Regions from separate parts of the Homo sapiens genome. Here regions 2, 3 and 4 are each linked to region 1. The links are contacts of gene promoters, found by promoter capture Hi-C in blood cells and fetal thymus (Javierre and others, 2016). All regions are on one chromosome and are shown on one strand. Each heading gives the region's core, a stretch centred on a gene start or on the middle of the fragment in contact. The rest is flanking DNA. Distances are from core to core; before and after follow the strand shown. Region 1 holds the start of ZNF92 (zinc finger protein 92). Region 2 has its middle 21 kb from the start of ZNF273. Region 3 has its middle 5.1 kb from the start of ZNF273. Region 4 overlaps ZNF273 (zinc finger protein 273).

Region 1 (4,816 bases), core at 1,071-3,570:
TTGAGATCCAGAATCTGTTTTCCGAAACCTAGATCTGGCTGGCCTTGTTTGCTCAAGGCAGTAAAAACATGTGACCATGATAGCGTGCCAGTTTGGGGCTTAGCAGTCTTGAATGCTTCTGTTTTTCTTTCACAATGCTGCCATCTCTGTGAAAAAAAGCCCATGCTAGGCAGCTGGAGGATGACATACCATGGGGAGGAGAAGCAAGGTGTCCCTGTTGACAGCTCCAGAAGCGCACATCCAGAAGCACAGCTGCCTAGTTAACAAGCAGCTGATAACACATGTCTGAAGGAGCTCAGCTGAGATCAGAAGAATTGCTCCACTGAGCCCAGCTTAAATGACTGACCATCTCAATTGTGAGCTAAGAAGCCTTAGCTGGGTTGGGCGCAGTGGCTCACGCCTGTAATCCCAGCACTTTGGGAGGCCGGGGTGGGCGGATTACCTGAGGTCAGCAGTTTGAGACCAGCCTGACCAACAAGGAGAAACCCCATCTCTACTAAAAATACAAAATTAGCCAGGCGTGGTGGCGCATACCTGTAATCTCAGCTACTCAGGAGGCTGAGGCAGGAGAATCACTTGAACCCAGGAGGCGGAGGTTGCGGTGAGCTGAGATCGTGCCATTGCACTCTAGTTTGGGCAACAAGAGCGAAACTCTGTATTTAAAAAAAAAAAAAAGCCTTGGTTGGTTTGTTATGCTGCAATACCTAACTAATACGTGCACACAGTGCAGATAGGATGCCAGGATTTAATGACAGGTTGATTACTGGTTGTTATAGTTACCTTCCAACAGTTGGCACCCTAAAAGTGCTGATTTTTTTTTCTGCTCTAAAGTTGGATGTTTTGTAAGATAATATTGAGTAATGCAGAAAAATATGTAGGCATGTTTGCATGGGATTGGTACTTGTACTCACACAATCCCCACGCCACAGGAGAAAACAGATAAACACACTCTGGCCACTAGGGCCAGGCCAAATAGCAAAATAAGTTTACCTTTAATCTGTTTTCTCTATACTTAAACACTGGAAGTGATGACTGTGGAGAGATCTGAAGACATAGCGTTTAATCTCCTGTGGCCCCATCATCTTTTGGTTACTGTCTGATCTCTGGAAGAAAGGTGGGCAACAGGTGGCCAGCAGTGGTGTACCTGTGGTTATTTTATTCTTGCTGCCCTCTGCTCTTTCTATGGTGACTATCTTGTTCCACCCTCAAAACTGTAGAAAGATGTTGGTAAAGAGAGGCTGTCCCCTCACTTCTGGCAGAAAAGGGGTGTTCAGACCCTTCACCCTCCTGATGTCAGGGCTGCATTTCAATGTGGCAGCTATTGGCCATGTGTAGCTACTGGCTGCCTGGAATGTGGCTGGTCTGAATTGCAATGTGCTAGAAAGGTAAAATAGAGTTAATTTCAAAGATTCAGTTCCAAATAAATATATATACTTTATTAATAATTACATATCACTCACATATTAGAATAAGGTTTTAGATATATTGGGTTAAATTGTTACAATCAATTTCACCTGTTTCTTGTTTCTTTTTAAAGTTTGGCTGCTAAAAAATGTACAATTCACGTGTCGCCCACATTTTATTTTAGAGGATTGCCTTCTTTTTAAAATTTCAGGCTGCCTGCTTAAAAAAACAGAAGTTGGCCGGGCTCTGTGGCTCACACCTGTAATCCCAGCACTTTGGGAGACCGAGGCGGGCGGATCACAAGATCAAGAGATCAAGACCATCCTGGCCAACATGGTGAAACCCCGTCTCTACTAAAAATACAAAAATTAGCTGGGTGTGGTGGCGTGCGCCTGTAGTCCCAGTTCCTCGGGAGGCTGAGACAGGAGAATCGCTTGAACCTGGGAGGCGGAGGTTGCAGCGAGTTGAGCTCGTGCCACTGCACTCCAGCCTGGCGACAGAGCTAGACTCTGTCTCAAAAAACAAAAACCAAAAACAAAACAAAACAACAAAACCAGAAGCCAGGAAGGTCATAAAATCTGAAAATTTTGAATAATTGGTATTATATTCTTTGCATTTGTGAATAGACATATAATATACTATTTATAAATGCATATGGCCTTATTCACAAGGTTAAATGCAAATACTGTCTGGGGTGGGCCTGACTCAGCTCAGGGAGGAAGCCCCGTCTGAAAAGGCTGCAGCTTAGGCTGTCACTCTTCCTTCAGTCCAGCATCTGATCACATCTCCCGTCACTCAGGGCCCGAAGGGGCGGGGCCTTAAACGTTATCCAATCAGGAACGCTGGGCTGGGAACCATCCAATCAGGCACGCAACTGGAGCGGACAGCACAGCTTCCGGGATTTGGCGGGGCCTTTGTCTCTCGCTGCAGCCGGCGCTCCACGTCTAGTCTTCACTGCTCTGCGTCCTGTGCTGATAAAGGCTCGCCGCTGTGACCCTGTTACCTGCAAGAACTTGGAGGTTCACAGCTAAGACGCCAGGACCCCCTGGAAGCCTAGAAATGGTGAGCCTGCTGGGTCCCACATCCCGAGAGAGGGGGAGGGTCTGGCTGGAACCGATTGGAAGTGGCTGTGGCGGGCCTCGGGCCTTCCCGCAGTCGGCTCCGAGATCCGCGGCCCGAGTTCTCCTTGGCGCAGCTCGGCCCTCAGTCTCCTTCAGCCATAAGATGGCGGCTGGGCTGACAGCCGGGACCCCGGGCGTCCTGTCTCCTCCCTGCGCAGTGACTGTGCTTTGGCCTGGAGCCCTCCCTGGGCAGCTCTGCACCCGCAGCGTCGCATCTCTCGCCGAGTGTGCAGGGACGACGGGAGAATAGTAAAGAGAAGAATCCTGACTCGGGGTGCGGGGTTTATGAATGGGAAGAGCTTTGGTCCGTGTGGTTCTCAGGTCCTCTTTTTTCCTATTAAAAATTTATGGGAGTCAAGGTAAAAATATTGAAGAATTTAATCAAAGAGCGATTCAGGAATTTTAGAGCACCCAGCTATGATTTGTAGTTTGTGGTCCGTGGGAGGGGCTTGAAGGAAACACTTTTATAAGATGCATAATGAAAAAAAACAAGTTTAATAATTGGTTAGGTACAGTTACGTCGTTTTTTAATTTGTATGATTAAGGTAGAAATTTCCTGGTCATGTAATCAGAGATTGTCAGTTTATAGTTGGTTAAGCCTGAATTTTGTTCCCTCGGTGTTATTTACCCTCCCCTCCCCCCGCCAAAAATGCATTTGAATTATATTTTTTTTAAAGTAGGAACCCAGGGACTAGAGCCACCTCAATCTAATTGCCTGCCACTTAATTATTTTCACATCCACAGGGGACTGATTTTCCCCTGCAGTTTTCACATGTGTCCCAAGCAGGGTCTCAAGTCTACCCCCCATCCCTCATTCCTCCAGCTTAATTCTGGCTTGCAGTAAAATACTAAATTTCCAGTTCCTTCTGACATTCCCAAATGCCAACTTACCCTCCCTAATTCGCATTAGCAAGTGTGTTTCCTTTAGTGTACATTTTCGATGGCATATTTTAATTAATCATTTTTGGCAAAGCATTGGATGGCACGTTTTAAAAGATTTGTTTCCTGTTTGTAAATATTTCCTATGAGAAGAAAGCAAAGAATAATCCCCTAACATTGTATTGTAAATCTCTGTGCCTCTTTTCTTTTTATCTTCCTTAGGCACAGAGATCTTATCAGAATGTTTTTGGGTCATGGTTGCTTTCCCTTTGGAAACTTTATGGGGTGATGTGTTCTCAGCCACCCTTCAGTTCTTTTTCTGGTCCTGGGTTTTAGTACTGTCTGGGGCAAGATACCTACCATGGCAATGTCGCTAGAGTGTCTAGTAAATATCAGCTCCTGGGTCATTTTCTCTCGTAGAATAACCTGAAGTATGGAATGTAGCTTCTCAAGGGAGCAGGTGGATGCCCTGGGGCTGAGAAGCATCTCCTGGGCTACTCTTCCTTTGAAAAGCTTACCCCTTGAGATATTAAGATTGTCTTCACTCAACCCAGCTTTCATTTCTTGGAGAAACATTGCTGGTCAGCCAATCAGATGCTGGTACTGGGAGGAAAACACCAAAATTATTTCTGTCCCCAGGATTCTCTAAGATTTGTGGAAAAAAAAAAAGTATTCCAAAAGATACAACAAAACCTGACCTGGAGATCGAGACCATCCTGGCCAATATGGTGAAAGCCGGTTTCTACTAAAATACAAAAAATTAGCCAGGCATGGTGGTGCATGCCTGTAATCCCAGCTACTCGGGAGGCTGAGGCAGGGGAATCGCTTGAACCCGGGAGAGGGAGATTGCAGTGAGCCAAGATCATGCCACTGCACTCCAGCCTCGAGACTCCGTCTCAAACAAACAAACAAAAACAACCTGATCCCAGTGAGATGGTACAAGAACTTGCAAAGTAAAATACACCTGGGGTATAGTGTCTTCTGAGAGGGTGGTTATTGAGTCTCCCTCTATTGCCCAGGCTGGAGTGCAGTGGCGTGGTCTCGGCTCACTGCAACCTCTGCCTTCTGGGTTCAAGAGATTCTGCTGCCTCAGCCTCCCGAGTAGCTGGAATTACAGGCACGCACAACCACACCCGACTAGTGTTTTGTATTTTAGTAGAGACTGGGTTTCACTCTGTTGCCCAGGCTGGTCTCAAACTCCTGAGCTCAGGCAGTCCACCTGCCTTGGCCTCCCAAAGTGCTAGGATTACAGGCGTGAGGCACCACGCCTGCTGACAAATCTGTTTTCTGATCAGCACTGCTACTTCCTGGGTTTGTCACCTTGAAAATATTTTTTTTTACTTATTTTGACTTTCATTTTATTAGGGCTTGAAAGGTAAGACATATTTACAAAGGGCATAAAAGAGGTGAGT
Region 2 (4,816 bases), core at 1,565-4,064, 490 kb before region 1:
CTCCCAAGCAATACTTGATTTTCCTTTGCTTTTATGGAGGGTCCACAGTGCCCCTCAACAGCACTACTGGACATGTTTTTCAGGCTTGAAATCGCCCTTAGACAGCCTCTGAGACACTTTCTCAACCTCACCTGCCCCGGTGGGATGCCAACTCCAGGTGTCAGACCTCTGCTCCACCTTGGACTAGCCTTTGTCGTGGTTCCTGCCTTTCCCAGACGACCGTGCTGAGAAGCAGGAGCCCCTGTGAGGCCCAGGATGAAGGAAGACAGTGAGCTTAAGGACACAGGAATCTTCCGCTAGCACCATCATCCAGAATTTTAACTAAAATTCCATCTCAAAGAGACCCCTCAAAAACTCACAAGACTGTATCTCCAGCCCAATGGGACCCGATTCCTACACACAGCCTTTTTCGGGAATGGAATCAGAAACGCAGTTTCCATGGCCCAACTCACAGTCTCAAAGCCTGTCCTCCTCCAGCGGGACAGGGCCACGGAGACAAACTAAGGAAGCCCTACGGTGAGCAACGTTGGGGGCCCGCAGTACTTGTTGCAGGCAGCCTATTTCCTGAGACCAGGCAGGCTCTGCCTGCACCATTTTCCTTGCTTAGGTAGGCTGAAAACCCTGACAGCCTGGTGACCGAAACTGCCTCATGCATGCACCAGTGGCGGGGCACCAGGAGCAAGTAGTGAGCGCGGGCTCGAGTCACAGTGAATGCCTTCGTTGCATCTCGACAAGTCTCTGACTCTTGGCAAAGAGGGGGTCCTCTGTGACGTGCGTCGAAGTTGGACTTCCGGTTGTCTTCTCTGGGGATCCATGGGATACTCCCACGATCCAGGATACAATAGAGGCAGACCATTCTGAGGAAATGTCAAGGTAAGGCCAAGGGATACATCGCGAAATCCCTAAGAATCCAAAAAGATCGGCAGGATGCTTCAGGCATGCCTAGACGGAGTGGGGGTGAGTCTCCTTGAAAGTTGCACTTCTATGATTTCTGACTACAGCACTCTTGTATTCCCTGGGGCTGCCCTCCCCAGGAGGGGCTTCCTGGCGAAGCAGAACCGCGCTGCCTCAGAAACTGCCGGGCTGGGTGTTTCTGCGGGAGTGTTGGGAGTGTTGGCTGCCCGCGTGTGATGGCGGCTGTGTGTGTGTGTGTCTGTGTGCCTGTATGTGGCGTCAACTGAAAGGAATATGGCTGAAGCACTGCAGCCCTTTTTTTTTCGAGTCGCCCCACCTTCTGGAAGCCTCTCTGTGCGAAAGGGCTTGGGCTGCGGGGCTCCGTGTCCTTTACTTTTTCTGTGGTTACTGAATCCGCTATAAATTGGCGGGCTAGCTGAGATGCGACGGGCCCCAAATTATATCCCCATGCAAAGCAGCAACTCTTCTAGAAAGCAGAGGAGCACACTACACCCAAGAACAGAAACCCCCGAGTGCCTCCTTTTCCTGTGGCCAACCCAGGGCCAGACCCCAGCAGTCCTGTGCCCAGGACTCCTTGAATCCGCCTCGATTTTGGTTCTCAATCGAGCAGGCACTTCACGTCGTGAGGCGGGCACTCCTCCATCGTCTCGGGATTTCATTCCGGGGACGGAGAGTGTGAGCTGCAGTTAGGTCAGATGGGGTGAGGATGCAATCTGGTGAGGTGTGGATGGGGTCCCGCACCTTCATCTGCTAAACAGGTGCGGACAGATGATACAGAAGGTGCTTCCAAATCCACCCCCGCATTCCCTTCGTCCACAGGCCGTCCAAACCATAGCCCAGTGCCCAGCTGGGAGGATTCCAACCTGCCAGGGAACAGTTGGAGTGCAAACCCAGGCCATTCTGGCCAGCTCCCGATTTCCGCAGTCATTCCGGGAGCCACAGGGGAGTGGGATGGACTGAGGCTGGGTGGGATGTGGCCGGCACACCAGCCTCCTCTTTTCCTGACTTCCATGTTTCTCGTGGGCCTAGGGTTTCCTGGGTCTGGCTCAAAGGCTTCCACAGGAAACGATTCCCTGTCCACGGAGGACGACCCTCATGGGGACAATTGAATGAGTGTTTCCTTCTAAACACTGTCACGGTTTAAGCACTAGGCTGCTGTGATACTTTTGGAAGGGTAAATTCCCGTTACATCCGCCAACAAGGAAGCTCTGGTTTTCCCACTTCTATCAGAGGGCTGCATGATTCCTGTAGGATGAGAAGCAGGCAACAGTGTCTGGCTTTTGCCGGGTAATCTAGGCTCTGTTTCATTTCATCTGCACATCCACTGTCCTTGTGGGGGGGCTGTTGCTGGGTGGGACTTCCTCTCACCCCAGATCTTGGCTGCCAGGGACTTCAGGGGGCACAAGGGACTTGGAGTAGGCTGACTTCACTCCAGGTCATGGGTCGTGGTCTCTTTGTGGGGGCTGGGGTTGTTTGAACTCTGCGGGAGGCTCTTGGGTCCTCTGGCAAGGATCCGTGAGCTTGACTTGGACTCCAGCCCAAACCCTCTAGTTCTGCCAGGCGAGTCTTGATTTTCTTGTGCTTTCACGGGGGATCCACAGTGCCCCTCAGCAGCACTCGTGGACACCCATTTCAGTCTTGCAATCGCTGTAGACGGACTCTGAGACACTCTCTGATCCTCACGTGCCCCCGTGGGATGCCAGTTCCAGGGGTGAGACCTCTTCTCCACCGTGTCCTTTCCTTTGTCGTGGTTCCTGCTTCTCCCAGATTGCCCGTGGGTGCTGAGAAGGGGGAGCCCCTAAACGGCCCGGGATGAAGGGAGGCCGTGAGCTCAAGGGCCCCGCAATCTTCCGCTGACACCCTCCTCTGGGGTCGCAGGTATGAATCCATCACCCGGAGACCCCTCAACAACTCACCAGACTGCATTCCCAACCCCCTGGGACCCGATTCCTGCACACAGCCTTTTTCGGGAAGGGAGTCCCAAGAGCAGCTTTCAGCGCCCACCTCACGGTCTCCAATCGCCTCCTCCTCCAGGGGGAGCCGACCACGGAGACGCCCCAGGAGGCCCTGTGGTCGAGACTTTTATAGTCCCGCAATGGTAGTCGCAGGCAGCCCTTTTCCTGACCAGGCCGTCTCTGCCTGCACCATTGTCCTTGCTTAGGCGGGCTGACAGCCCCGACAGCCTGGCGCCCGAGGCAGCCTCACGAATGCGCATGTGCCAGTGGCGGGGCACAAGGCGCCAGCGGCGAGCACTGGCTTGCTTCACAGTGAACGCCTTCGTTGCCTGGCGACTAGTCCCTGCGGCTTAGCGGAGAGGGGGCGTCGGCGTTGGGCTCTCGCCTGTCTTCTCTGGGGGGATCCTCGGGATACTCCCACGATCTAGGACAGGGCAGGGGCGAGCCAGCCTGAGGAAACGTCAAGGGAAGGCCCAGGGATACACCGCGAAATCCCTAAGAATCCAAAAGGATCCGCAGGAGGCGTCAGGCCTGCCTAGACGGAGTGGGGTGAGTCTCCTTAAACGTTGCCCCCCTGTGATTTCTGACTACAGCAGGCCTGTGTTCCCCGGGGCTGCCCTCTCCCGGGAGGGGCTTCCCGGCGGAGCAGAACCGCGCTGCCTCAGAAGCTGCCGGGCTGTGTGTTTCTGCGGGAGTGTTGCGAGTGTTGGCTGCCCGAGTGTGTATGCGGCTGTCTGTGTGTGCGCGTGTGTGTGTTTCTGTGTGTGTCTGTGTGCGTGAAGGCGGCGTCCGCTGAAAGGAATATGGCTCAAGCACTGCAGCGCTTTTTCTTTTTTTTCCGAGTGGCCCGACCTTCTGGTACGCCTCTGTGCGGCTCTGCTTGGGCTGCGGGGCTCCGCGTCCTGTATTTTTTCCGTGGTTCCTGAATCCGCGGTGAATTGGGGGGCTGGCTGAGACGCGCAGGAGCCCAAATCACCACCCCCCCCTCACCAAGCAGCAACTGGTCTAGAAAGAAGAGGAGCACACCACACCCAAGAAGAGAAACCTCCGAGCGCCTCCTTTTCCGGTGGCCAACCCAGGGCCAGACCCTAGCAGTCCTGTGCGCAGGGCTCCTTGAATCCACCTCGAATTCGGTTCCCAGCCGAGCAGGCGCTTCACGTCGTGAGGCGGGCACTCCTCCATCGTCTCGGGATTTCATTCCGGTAATGGATAGTGTGAGCAGCAAGTAGGTCAGATAGGGGTAAGGATGCAATCTGGTGAGGTGTGGATGGGGTCCCGCACCTTCATCTGCTAAACAGGTGCGGACAGATGATACAGAAGGTGCTTCCCACTTCACCCCCGCATTCACTTCGTCGCACAAGCCGTCCACACCATGGCCCGGTGCCCAGGTGGGAGGACTCCAACGTGCCGGGGAATAGTTGGAGCAAACCCTGACCATTCTGGCCATCTCCCAATTTCGGCTGTCATTCCCGGAGCCACATGAAGTTTGAATGGACTGAGGCTGGGCGTGATGTGTCCTGCACCCCGGCCTCCTCTTTTCCTGACTTCCATTTTTCTCGTGGGCCTAGAGTTTCCTTGGTCTGGCTCAAAGGCTTCTACAGTAAACCTTTCCTTGTTCACAGAGGACGACCCTCATGGGGACCATTGTATGAGTGTTTCCGTCTAAACACTGTCACGTTTTGCGGACTAGGCAGCTGTGATACTTTTGGAACAGTAAATTCCTGTTACATCCGCCAACAACGAAACTCTTGTTCTCCCACTTCTATAGGATTGCAGCATGATTCCTATATGATGGGACCTAGGCTGCCAAGTCTGGCTTTTGCCTAATATTCTAGGCTCTTTTTCATTTCATCTGCACGTCTTTTCTCATTGTGGATTTCGTTGGTCTTTGGGCTGTTGCTGTATGTGAGTGCCTCTCACCACAGATCTTTTGCTTGCCAGGGATT
Region 3 (4,816 bases), core at 1,235-3,734, 480 kb before region 1:
AAGTGGTATATCAAGAATTCTTAGGCTACTGAGAAAACAGAGTCTGCTATTACCCAAGAAATCAACTGGAAGGCATTTTTATAACCTTACACCACAAAAGGAAAAATTGAAAGGCAGTGCTAATAAATGCAAACTACATCACCTAGAAAATGGTAATCTAGAATGTCACTGTCAATATTTAAGAATTTGAACTTTCAGTATGAAAAATTTGGTAAAATAAAGCTTTTATTTTCTTTTTTCTTTTCTTTTTTTTTTTGAGACGGAGTCTCACTCTGTCACCAATAATTGCCTATATATGTTGTAGGCAATTATTTTCTAAATTCAACAAAGTTGCAATAAACTCTTTCATGTATAAATCTCACTGAAAGGCACTATCCAGTAGCTATTTCCCTCAGTCTTTTCTGGAATTTTCTATCACTTGATTCAAAACCAACCTTATTTGAATCCTAGCAATTTCTAAAGCTCCAAAGGTAATAACAAAAAGGGAGTAGAAAAGAAGCCAAGTTACCCCAAACACTAAATGTCTAATATATTTGGTTCCGCAAATGAAATATATTTGGTTCCGCAAATGAACCAAAAACCACACAAACTAAAAAACAGTGGCTTTAAAACTCAACCTAAATTCAATGGTAGCAGTCAAATCTATATGCAAAAATTAGCAAAGACACAATACAGAAACCCAGTCTGTTATTCCAGGAAAAATAATAAAATTCTTATTTTGGCATTTTTCAGAAAGAATAAATACATTAAATATGACAAAATATACCCAGTCAAGTATAAGAAAATCTTTGAAATATAAATGATTTTATTCTTATTCTTAAATATTTACTATAATATATTTAGAAGAGCTTTTCAGTGAAAAATGCTTATAGCTACTATGTATAAATTAAAACAGCCCTTGGAAAAATAGTATCTTTTATTAATAATGCAGATCGCAGCTCCAAGGATGTAAATCTGGGCTCATAGCTCATGACCCAAATCAAGCTCAGATGATCTATGTAACAATCATAAGTTATAGTATTAAATTAAAATGCTTCTAGAAATAAAAATAAAAAGAGGTAAAAGCAAATGAAAAAAAGGGGAAGTGGATTCCTCACAATTACTCCTAAGGTATGGAATCAAACTAAGTGTTAATTAACAGGTGAATAAATATAGAAAATGTGGTATATTTACACAATGGAATGCTATTCAGCCCTTCAAAAGAAGCAACTCTTGTTATTTGCAACAACATCAATGAACCTGGAGGACATTATGCTAAGTAAAATAAGTCAGCACAAAAACTATAGAAGCAGAGAGTAGAATGATGATTGCCTGGGGCTGGGGGTGGAGGAGATGTGGGTCAAAAGTAATGGGTCTTCCCTATGTCTCTTACCTTAACATGTAATTTATTCTTCTCTCAGTTTTGATTCACCAGGGAATGGAATTATATGCTGAGGAGTCAAAACTTAATGTTGGTAGAGCTGAGAATAGCAGTTTCCTGGTAGAACAACCACTTCTCAGCAGTATAGAAATCACTGAAAGAAAAGTGTGTCTCTCATAAAAAGCTAATGTTTTTGTTTGTTTGTTTGTTTTCAGACGGAATCTTGCTCTGTCGCCCAGACTGGAGTGCAGTGGCGCAATCTCAGCTCACTTCAAGCTCTGCCTCCCAGTTTCACGCCATTCTCCTGCCTCAGCCTCCCGAGTAGCTGGGACTACAGGCGCCCGCCACCACACCCAGCTAATTTTTTGTATTTTTAGTAGAGACGGGGTTTCACTGTGCTGGCCAGCATGGTCTCGATCTCCTGAGCTCGTGATCCACCCGCCTCGGCCTCCCAAAGTGCTGGGATTACAGGCATGAGCCACCGTGCCCAGCCAAAAAGCTGATGTGTTTTAAGCAAAATAAGCATACGCATCAATAGTAAAATGCTTCTGGTAAAATAAAGGTTCATTTTGTTGATTTCTTTTTTTTTTTTTTTTTCTGAGACGGAGTCTTGCTCTGTCGCCCAGTCTGGAGTGCAGTGGCACGGTCTCTGCTCACTGCAAGCTCTGCCTCCTGGGTTCACGCCAGTCTCCCGTCTCAGTCTCCCGTCTCAGCCTCCCGAGTAGCTGGGACTACAGGCGCCTGCCACCACGCCCGGCTAATTTTTTGTATTTTTTAGTAGAGACAGGGTTTCACCGTGTTAGCCAGGATGGTCTCGATCTCCTGACCTCGTAATCCTCCCGCCTCGGCCTCCCAAAGTGCTGGTATTACAGGCGTGAGCCACCGCACCCGGCCTCATTTTGCTGATTTCTCTTGAGCTCAGGTAATATTTCACCAAAAGGCTGGCATATATTTAGCCAAAAAAGGGATATTGTTTGAAATAAGAATATTGTGAATAAAGTTATTCTGTCAATAGAATAACATTATTACTTCATACAAGTCTTACCTGTAGTTGTACATCAAATGCTACTTTTTATTAAAAATAGTATTTTATATAAGTATTCAATTTATATCACCTTTCTTCTCTATTTCAACACCTTCTTCACTTAACACCAATGGAAAGCAAGCCAGCTGGTGCCAGGAAAGCACGTGTTGTTATTGCCATTTTAATGATGACAGTGAAGAACACTCGTTTGAGTGTTCTTCGTTTGAGTAGTACTCGCGTGCCAAACGCTGTTCATTTAACACAAAGAACTGGTTTTCTATTTTATCCTAAATTTACTGATAACATTTTTAGCTAAGAAGACTTTGTCTCATTCAAGTGTGTTTTATGGAATTTGGTTGACATTTAAGTGTCTCTGACTTTCCTGGAATATATTATAATTTTTCATAAATCCATATTGAGTACTATAAATAAACAATCTTTTACTAAAAGCCTTTGTGAGGTAGAGTAGGATACATCAAATTTTATTATAATATGGTAAGTGTGTTAACCATGTTCCTAGTAATCCCTCTGAACACAGCATTCTCAGTTTCCAGTATTCACATTGAGTCACTTAGGGGAAATTGGTATCTCTGTAAGCAGGCAGAAGAAGGTGCCCAGTGGAGGTGCACCACATTGCATGGAAATGCTGTCCACATGCACCTTTGGGGTCTTAATTTAACTGGGCTGTCATTTGCATGGCTAGATACTTACTGAATCCGGTCATACTGTTTTTGGCAGCTAATGGCATTTGTTCCCCATAAGTTTTCTACAATTATTTGCTTTGCTGAAAAATAAATCTTTTGTTAACTTACTCTAAATTGAGAGACTAGATTTGCAATTTTCAATTTTTAAACATGAAAGCAAAGCAGAGAAGAACAATATGTGTATATAACATGCATTTTCCTGCCTATGAAAATTCTTGTATTGCCTTGGAAACCCTAGGAAGCCACCTAAAGAATTCTCCCTTCAAATTGTTTAGCCAGAATTTTAAATTTCAAAAGGTCCAAAACTTAACAATTGAGCAAAGCAAAAATCTTGTCTTTGCTTCTTGTTAGTAATCTGTCATTTCAGAAAACATGGCAATTATGCCAAGCCATTGAAAAAAAATGTGATTTTGGTTAATTTTATCCCATTTAAAATGTTGTCTTTGTTACTTTTATCATGTTAATCTAAGAGAAACTATCTACATAACTATTTATGCCTTCAGGAAATATTATGCCAGGCGCAGTGGCTCACGCCTGTAATCCCGACATTTTGGGAGGCCAAGGTGAGTGGATCACTTGAGGTCAGGAGTCCCAGACCGGCCTTGCCAACATGGTGAAACCCCATTTCTACTAAAAACACAAGAATTAGCCAGGTGTGGTGGTGTATACCTGTAATCCCAGCTATTTGGAAGGCTGAGGCAAGAGAATCACTTGAAACTGGGAGACAAATGTTGAAGTAGAGCCAAGATCTTGCCACTGCACTCCAGATGGAGATAAAATGAGACTCCATCTCAAAAAAAAAAAAGAAAAAATATTTCTATTAAGTTGTTTAAAGTTCAGTATTGTAGTACAGTATAGCAGAATTCTCTAAAATTAGCAGAAGTTCATTGTAATTTCAAGGTTTTTTTTTTTTTTTTGAGACAGAGTTTTGCTCTTGTTGCCCGGGCTGGAGTGCAATGGCGTGATCTTGGCTCACAGCAACCTCTGCCTCCCGGTTTCAAGTGATTCTCCTGCCTCAGCCTCCTAAGTAGCTGGGATTACAGGCATGCGCCACCAAGCCTGGCTAATTTTGTATTTTTAGTAGAGACGGGGTTTCTCCATGTTGGTCAGGCTGGTCTCGAACTCCCAACCTCATGGGATCCGCCTGCCTCGGCCTCCCAAAGTGCTGGGATGAGCCACCACACCCTGCCTGGTTTCAAGGGATTTAACTGTGATAACAAATGATTAGGTATGCTTTATGCTTTTTCTTTTCTCTCTCTTTTTTTTTTTTTGTTTGTTTGTTTTGAGACCAAGTCTCGCTCTGTCACCCAGGCTGGAGTGCAGTTGTGTAATCTCGGCTCACTGCCACCTCCATTTTCAAGGCTGAAGTAATCCTCCCACCTCAGACTCCTGAGTAGCTGGGAATACAGCCTTGTGCCACCATGCCGGGCAATTTTTGTACTTTTAGTAGAGATGGTGTTTTGTCATGTTGCCCAGGCTGGTTTCAAACTCCTGGGCTCAAGTGATCCATCCACCTTGAACTCCCAAAATGCAAGTGGTACAGGAGATAGAAAGAAATTGTTTAGGCAGATAGCGAGGGTAAAAGAGTCCCTGGCAAGGTTTCCCTTTTAACCAAAAGCAGCCTGAAAAATCGAGCAGCAAACATGGATAAGCAAACCGGAAGCTTGCACTAGTGAATGCCAGCAGCTAGCCAGGTGTGTTCAACATGGAGGCTCCATCCTCCCTTTC
Region 4 (4,816 bases), core at 571-3,070, 440 kb before region 1:
CAGAGAAAAACCCTGAAGCAGTTGTTCAAACTTTGTTCAATACCAGGAAATTTATATTGGAGAAAAACCCTATGAGTGTAATGAATTTGGAAAAATATTTTTTTCAACAACAGCTTAGAAAACATGGGAGGAATTACACTAAAATATATTTTTGCAAATGCAGCAGTAAATATGAAAGAAATGATCCAAAGTTAGGTTTATATAAATATCAGAGAATTCACAATACAGATATCTAAGATACTGACACTTCAGACATTACACAAAATCAGAGTGCTGAGTACAGAAAGTTATCCAAAACAAAAGTTGGTAGATAACTAATAGTGAACAAGTTTTTGGCAGAGGTATATTTACATTCAGAGTACACTTTTCTTTGGAAAAAATTACAGGTTTTTTGAAAAGTGAATAATGTAATTCAACTCTCAAATTCATGGTTTTTTTTTTTTTGGTTTTGGTTTTGGGTTTTTTGTTTGTTTGTTTGTTTGTTTTTGAGACGGAGTTTCACTCTTGTTGCCCAGGCTGGAGTGCAATGGCGTGATCTCAGCTCACCGCAACCTCTGCCTCCCAGATTCAAGCAATTCTCCTGCCTCAGCCTCCCTAGTAGCTGGGATTACAGGCATGTGCCACACCTGGCTAATTTTTGTGGTTTTAGTAGAGACAGGGTTTCTCCATGTTGGTCAGTCTGGTCTCAAACTCCCAACCTCAGGTGATATGCCCGCCTCGGCCTCCCAAAATGTTGGGATTACAGGCATGAGCCACTGCACCCGGCGCATGTTTTTTCTTCATTCCTATTGTATTCACATGTGAAAGCATGTGATCAACTTGCTGCATCAAAGATATGAGATTTTTTTTTTTATTAGGTGGGCATTATTTATGACCTTTTCTGTGGAAGAGTAAGAACATTAAAATGAAAGATGCATGATGAAAATCTAAGTAGAGAGGCTCTTGTGGTTAACTGATAATATTGAGTGATGCATGAGGTAGGTGTTCAGAGTAATATTCTGCATTATAGTGAAAAATTTTTAATATTAAAATTCAATTATATCATTTTATGAATTGTGCTTTTCATAATGCAGTACATTTCAAAATTTTTAGATTATGTATGAACTTAGATTTTTAAACATGTTTTAACATGTTAAGACTTGTGCATTCAGTGAAGCGTTATTATGCCACAAACTAACCTACCTCACCTTACTCAATGGTGTAGGTAAAAGATGATAGCAATATATTATTTGGTTACATAGTGGACTAACATTTTTAGTAATCTCTTTTGCCAGTGGCTTTAAACTGCAGATAAGTTAAATATTCCCATAGGTTTTACATTTATATTTTTTCTTATTTAAATTTATTGTTCTTATTTTTCATGGGTACATAGTATGTTTTTATGCTGTATATGGCATGTTTTGATACAGGTATATAATATGTAATAATCACATCAGGGTAAATGAGGTATCCCTTACTAGCATTTATCCTTTGTATTTTATTTTAAAATGTACAACTAAATTGTTATGGACTACAGGGTTATTTTTATGGTCATAATAAAAATTACAAAAGTATGAATAAAATACATACATTTCTGAGTCCTGAATATTTTTAAAAATTTGTTATATATTTTTCTTCTAACATGTGGCCTCTTTGCCTGCAAACATATAAAGACTCAGTTTTGATTTACATAGAGTTAAATATACATATATTTTACTTTAAAGATAAATCTTAAGTGTAAGAAAATTGTAGAGTAAGTGTGCTTGTGTGAGTATGTTTGTACCTGTTTTCAAAAGAAAACAGCAATATTGGAACAAAACAAATCATTTTAATAAGGTGACTAATTTATTAGAAAACTAACAACCTCAAAAATGCTGAAAGCAAATCTATACTCTCTCTGCTTTGTACTGAATTCATTACTGTAAAATATTATGGCTTATGGTTCAGAATCTCCCCATGCAGATGTTCTGTTTTTACTTGCCTGGTACTCATGGTAGAGCCATACATTTCTTTTTTCTTACAATTTCTTTTACAGTTTATGAAGTATTATATGAGCTGGTCAGGGATTACAACAATTATTTTTTTTATAAAATTTAGTAGTGCACAAAAAGTAATTTTTAGATGTAATTTTACTATTAGTCTATTAAGTTATATTTTATTTATTTAGTTAAAACATTGCCCTTTGTTCTTTTAATTGGAGAACCCTATGTAAGCCGACTTTTTTAAAGTTATTCTTTCTTTCACTTTTCATAATTTTCATAAGTAAATTTATTTATTTATTGAATTTGTTCAGGTAAGTACTAGGGAGGCTTCCTGAGTCATGAGGATGCTGTTCTATATAAACATAGCAGACAAACATGACAGTGCTTGATCTATAACAGATGCTCCATAGTAAGACATAAATATTCCTGTTGAAGTTAGTTTGTAACTTCAAGTCAGAAATGGAATATATCAATGGTGAAACAGTAACATTGATTTTTCATGTGGAGAGGACATTTTTTTTCCAGGCTGCGAAGCTGAATTCTGCCGAATTTAAAGAGAAATGCTGGTTATTTTCTAATTATATTCAGTTTTGTTTGTCTTATGTGTATTCCAACAATGTGTGCATCACAGCTCTTCTTTTTCTGTGTTATGGCTACAGTTTTCTTGCTGTTGTCTTTATGCCATGTCATTTCACATGGTAATTTAGTAAGTTTTGATGAGAAATTTGATATTTTTAGTGCACTGAAAAATTGGTTTTAATTGGTGAGTTTGCTTACCAATATAACTGTCAGATTGTTAAGATAAAAGGCATACGCTGTCCACAGGTGAGAGGATTAAATCACTTAGCATTGTTTTTAACTGTTTGTAAAAAAAAAAAAAAATATCTTACTAGATTCTTATACAAAGTGTGGCAAATATAAAATTTGCTAGAAAATATGTTAGAAATTTATTTATTTATTTATTTATTTAGAGATGAGGTTTCACTCTTGTTGCCCAGGCTGGAGTGCAATGGCGCGATCTTGGCTCACCACAACCTCCACCTCCTGGGTTTGATTCTCCTGTCACAGCCTCCCTAGTAACTTAGATTACAGGCATGTGCCACCACGCCTGGCTAATTTTGTATTTTTAGTAGACAGGGTTTCTCCATGTTGGTGAGGCTGGTCGTGAACTCCTGACCTTAGGTGATCCGCCCACCTCCGCCTCCCAGAGTGCTGGGATTACAGGCGCGAGCCACTGCGCCCGGCCAGAAATTAAATTTTTAAGAGAGCTAATGGTAAATCTGACTCGGCACGGTGGCTCATGCCTGTAATCCTAGCACTTTGGGAGCCTGAGCTGGGTGGATTACTTAAGGCCAGGAGTGCGAAACCAGCCCGGCCAACATGGTGAAACCCTGTCTTTACTAAAAATACAAAAATTAGCCAGCTGTGGTCGTGTGCATCTGTAGTCCCAGCTACTTTGAAGGCTGAGGCAGGAGAATCATTTGAACGCGGGAGTAACGTTTTCACACAGAATCTATTTTTAAGTGTGACTGTAAAACATTGCAAAATAATAAAATGACTTCTGTTGACTTGAAATTTGGAATAGTATTTCTTTTCCCTATTAATATTACAATTTGGAGGAATTCCTTTTTTAGATGCAGTCTCACTCTTGTCACCCAAGCTGGAGTGCAGTGGCGCCATCTCGGCTCACTGCAACCTTCGCCTCCCAGGTTCAAGCTGTTCTCCTGCCTCAGCCTCCTGAGTAGCTAGGATTACAGGCACCTGCCACCACGCCTGGCTAATTTTTGTACTTTTTAGTAGAGACAGCGTTTTGCCATGTTGGCCAGGCTGGTCTCGAACTCCTGACCTCAGATGATCCACCCACCTCAGCCTCCTGAAGTGTTGGGATTACAGGCGTGAACCACTGCGCCCGGTCTCACTTTTCTTAATATATATTTTTTTGGTTGGTGAAGTTCAGTCTACAGCTTTTATTCTTAGTCACCTATCTGTAGCCAACTCCTTGGTCATTTTCTCTGGAAAACTTTTGGAGATCAGGGCAACTTTTGGATTAAAACGTTTTCTATTTTTTTGCATGCAAATTTGTGTTCTGCCTTCACAGAATGGTGTCATGGGACCATAAGCAACACCTGCCCTTTTAGTGTCTTTCATACCATTACCATCTGTACCAGAAACTCCAGGTACCCCAAGCTTAAAGTAAAAACCCTAAAGTACATTGGCTTTTCCCACAGACTGTACTGGGTCCAGAACATGCTGTTAAATATCAGAGTTTCTGTGATTATGACAGATGACAAAAGCCACACAAGAACTAAGTATTTTTGATACTATTCAGCCAAGTTTATGAAACAGACACAGTATTTGAAACATTATTATCTTTCTATAATGTTTTAAAAATGAATTTTTTGATGTGACATAAAATGCATTTTTTTCTGTAAAACATGATGTTTTGAAGTATATATACAATGTCAAATGCTTAATTCCAAGTTAATGCTTTACCTCACATAGTTAACATTTTATGGTGAGAGCACTTCACATTTTCTTAGCATTTTTCTTAGCACTTTTCATTTTTTCAGTATTAGCATATACAAATACATTATTATGAACCATAGTCACCGTGCTGTACAGAAAAATCTTTTGAACTTATTCCTCTTATTTAACTATAATTATGTACCTGGGATTACAGGCACCCACAACTATGCCTGGCTAATTTTTGTATTTTTAGTAGAGATGGGGTTTCACCATGTTGGCCAGGCTGGTCTCTAACTCCTGACTTCAAGTGATCTGCCCGCATTGGTCTCCCATAGTGCTGGAACTACAGGCATGAGCCTGCAGCCTGGCCAAGTTTCTTACATTTTTTT

What was found. The method cuts DNA at HindIII sites, captures the fragments that hold promoters and counts their contacts. A CHiCAGO score of 5 or more calls a contact.
Region 2: a fragment that was not itself captured here is called in contact with the fragment with the promoter of ZNF92 in region 1 in 2 of 17 cell types (neutrophils and total CD4 T cells); the score reaches 6.7 in neutrophils.
Region 3: a fragment that was not itself captured here is called in contact with the fragment with the promoter of ZNF92 in region 1 in 4 of 17 cell types (M0 macrophages, neutrophils, monocytes and 1 more); the score reaches 6.7 in M0 macrophages.
Region 4: a contact is called between a fragment that was not itself captured here and the fragment with the promoter of ZNF92 in region 1, in 2 of 17 cell types (M2 macrophages and M1 macrophages). The highest score is 6.4, in M2 macrophages.

What each region holds. Positions count from the first base shown.
Region 1 is chr7:65,371,535-65,376,350 of GRCh38, forward strand. ZNF92 (zinc finger protein 92) reads left to right here and starts at 2,321. Exons shown (of 4, transcript NM_152626.4): 1 at 2,321-2,466. The coding sequence starts at 2,464. RefSeq lists a silencer at 2,186-2,456 and an enhancer at 2,352-2,751. The HindIII fragment of the contact is 7,156 bases long and covers 1-3,915 here.
Region 2 is chr7:64,879,367-64,884,182 of GRCh38, forward strand. It overlaps a transcript of ZNF273 not described here. Among named protein-coding and RNA genes, the nearest start is that of ZNF273, 21 kb to the right of the region's middle. The HindIII fragment of the contact is 7,133 bases long and covers 1-4,816 here.
Region 3 is chr7:64,895,773-64,900,588 of GRCh38, forward strand. It overlaps a transcript of ZNF273 not described here. Among named protein-coding and RNA genes, the nearest start is that of ZNF273, 5.1 kb to the right of the region's middle. The HindIII fragment of the contact is 4,529 bases long and covers 221-4,749 here.
Region 4 is chr7:64,929,397-64,934,212 of GRCh38, forward strand. ZNF273 (zinc finger protein 273) reads left to right here. Exons shown (of 4, transcript NM_021148.3): 4 at 1-1,585. It also overlaps the pseudogene VN1R42P. Among named protein-coding and RNA genes, the nearest start is that of ZNF273, 29 kb to the left of the region's middle. The HindIII fragment of the contact is 4,652 bases long and covers 1-4,146 here.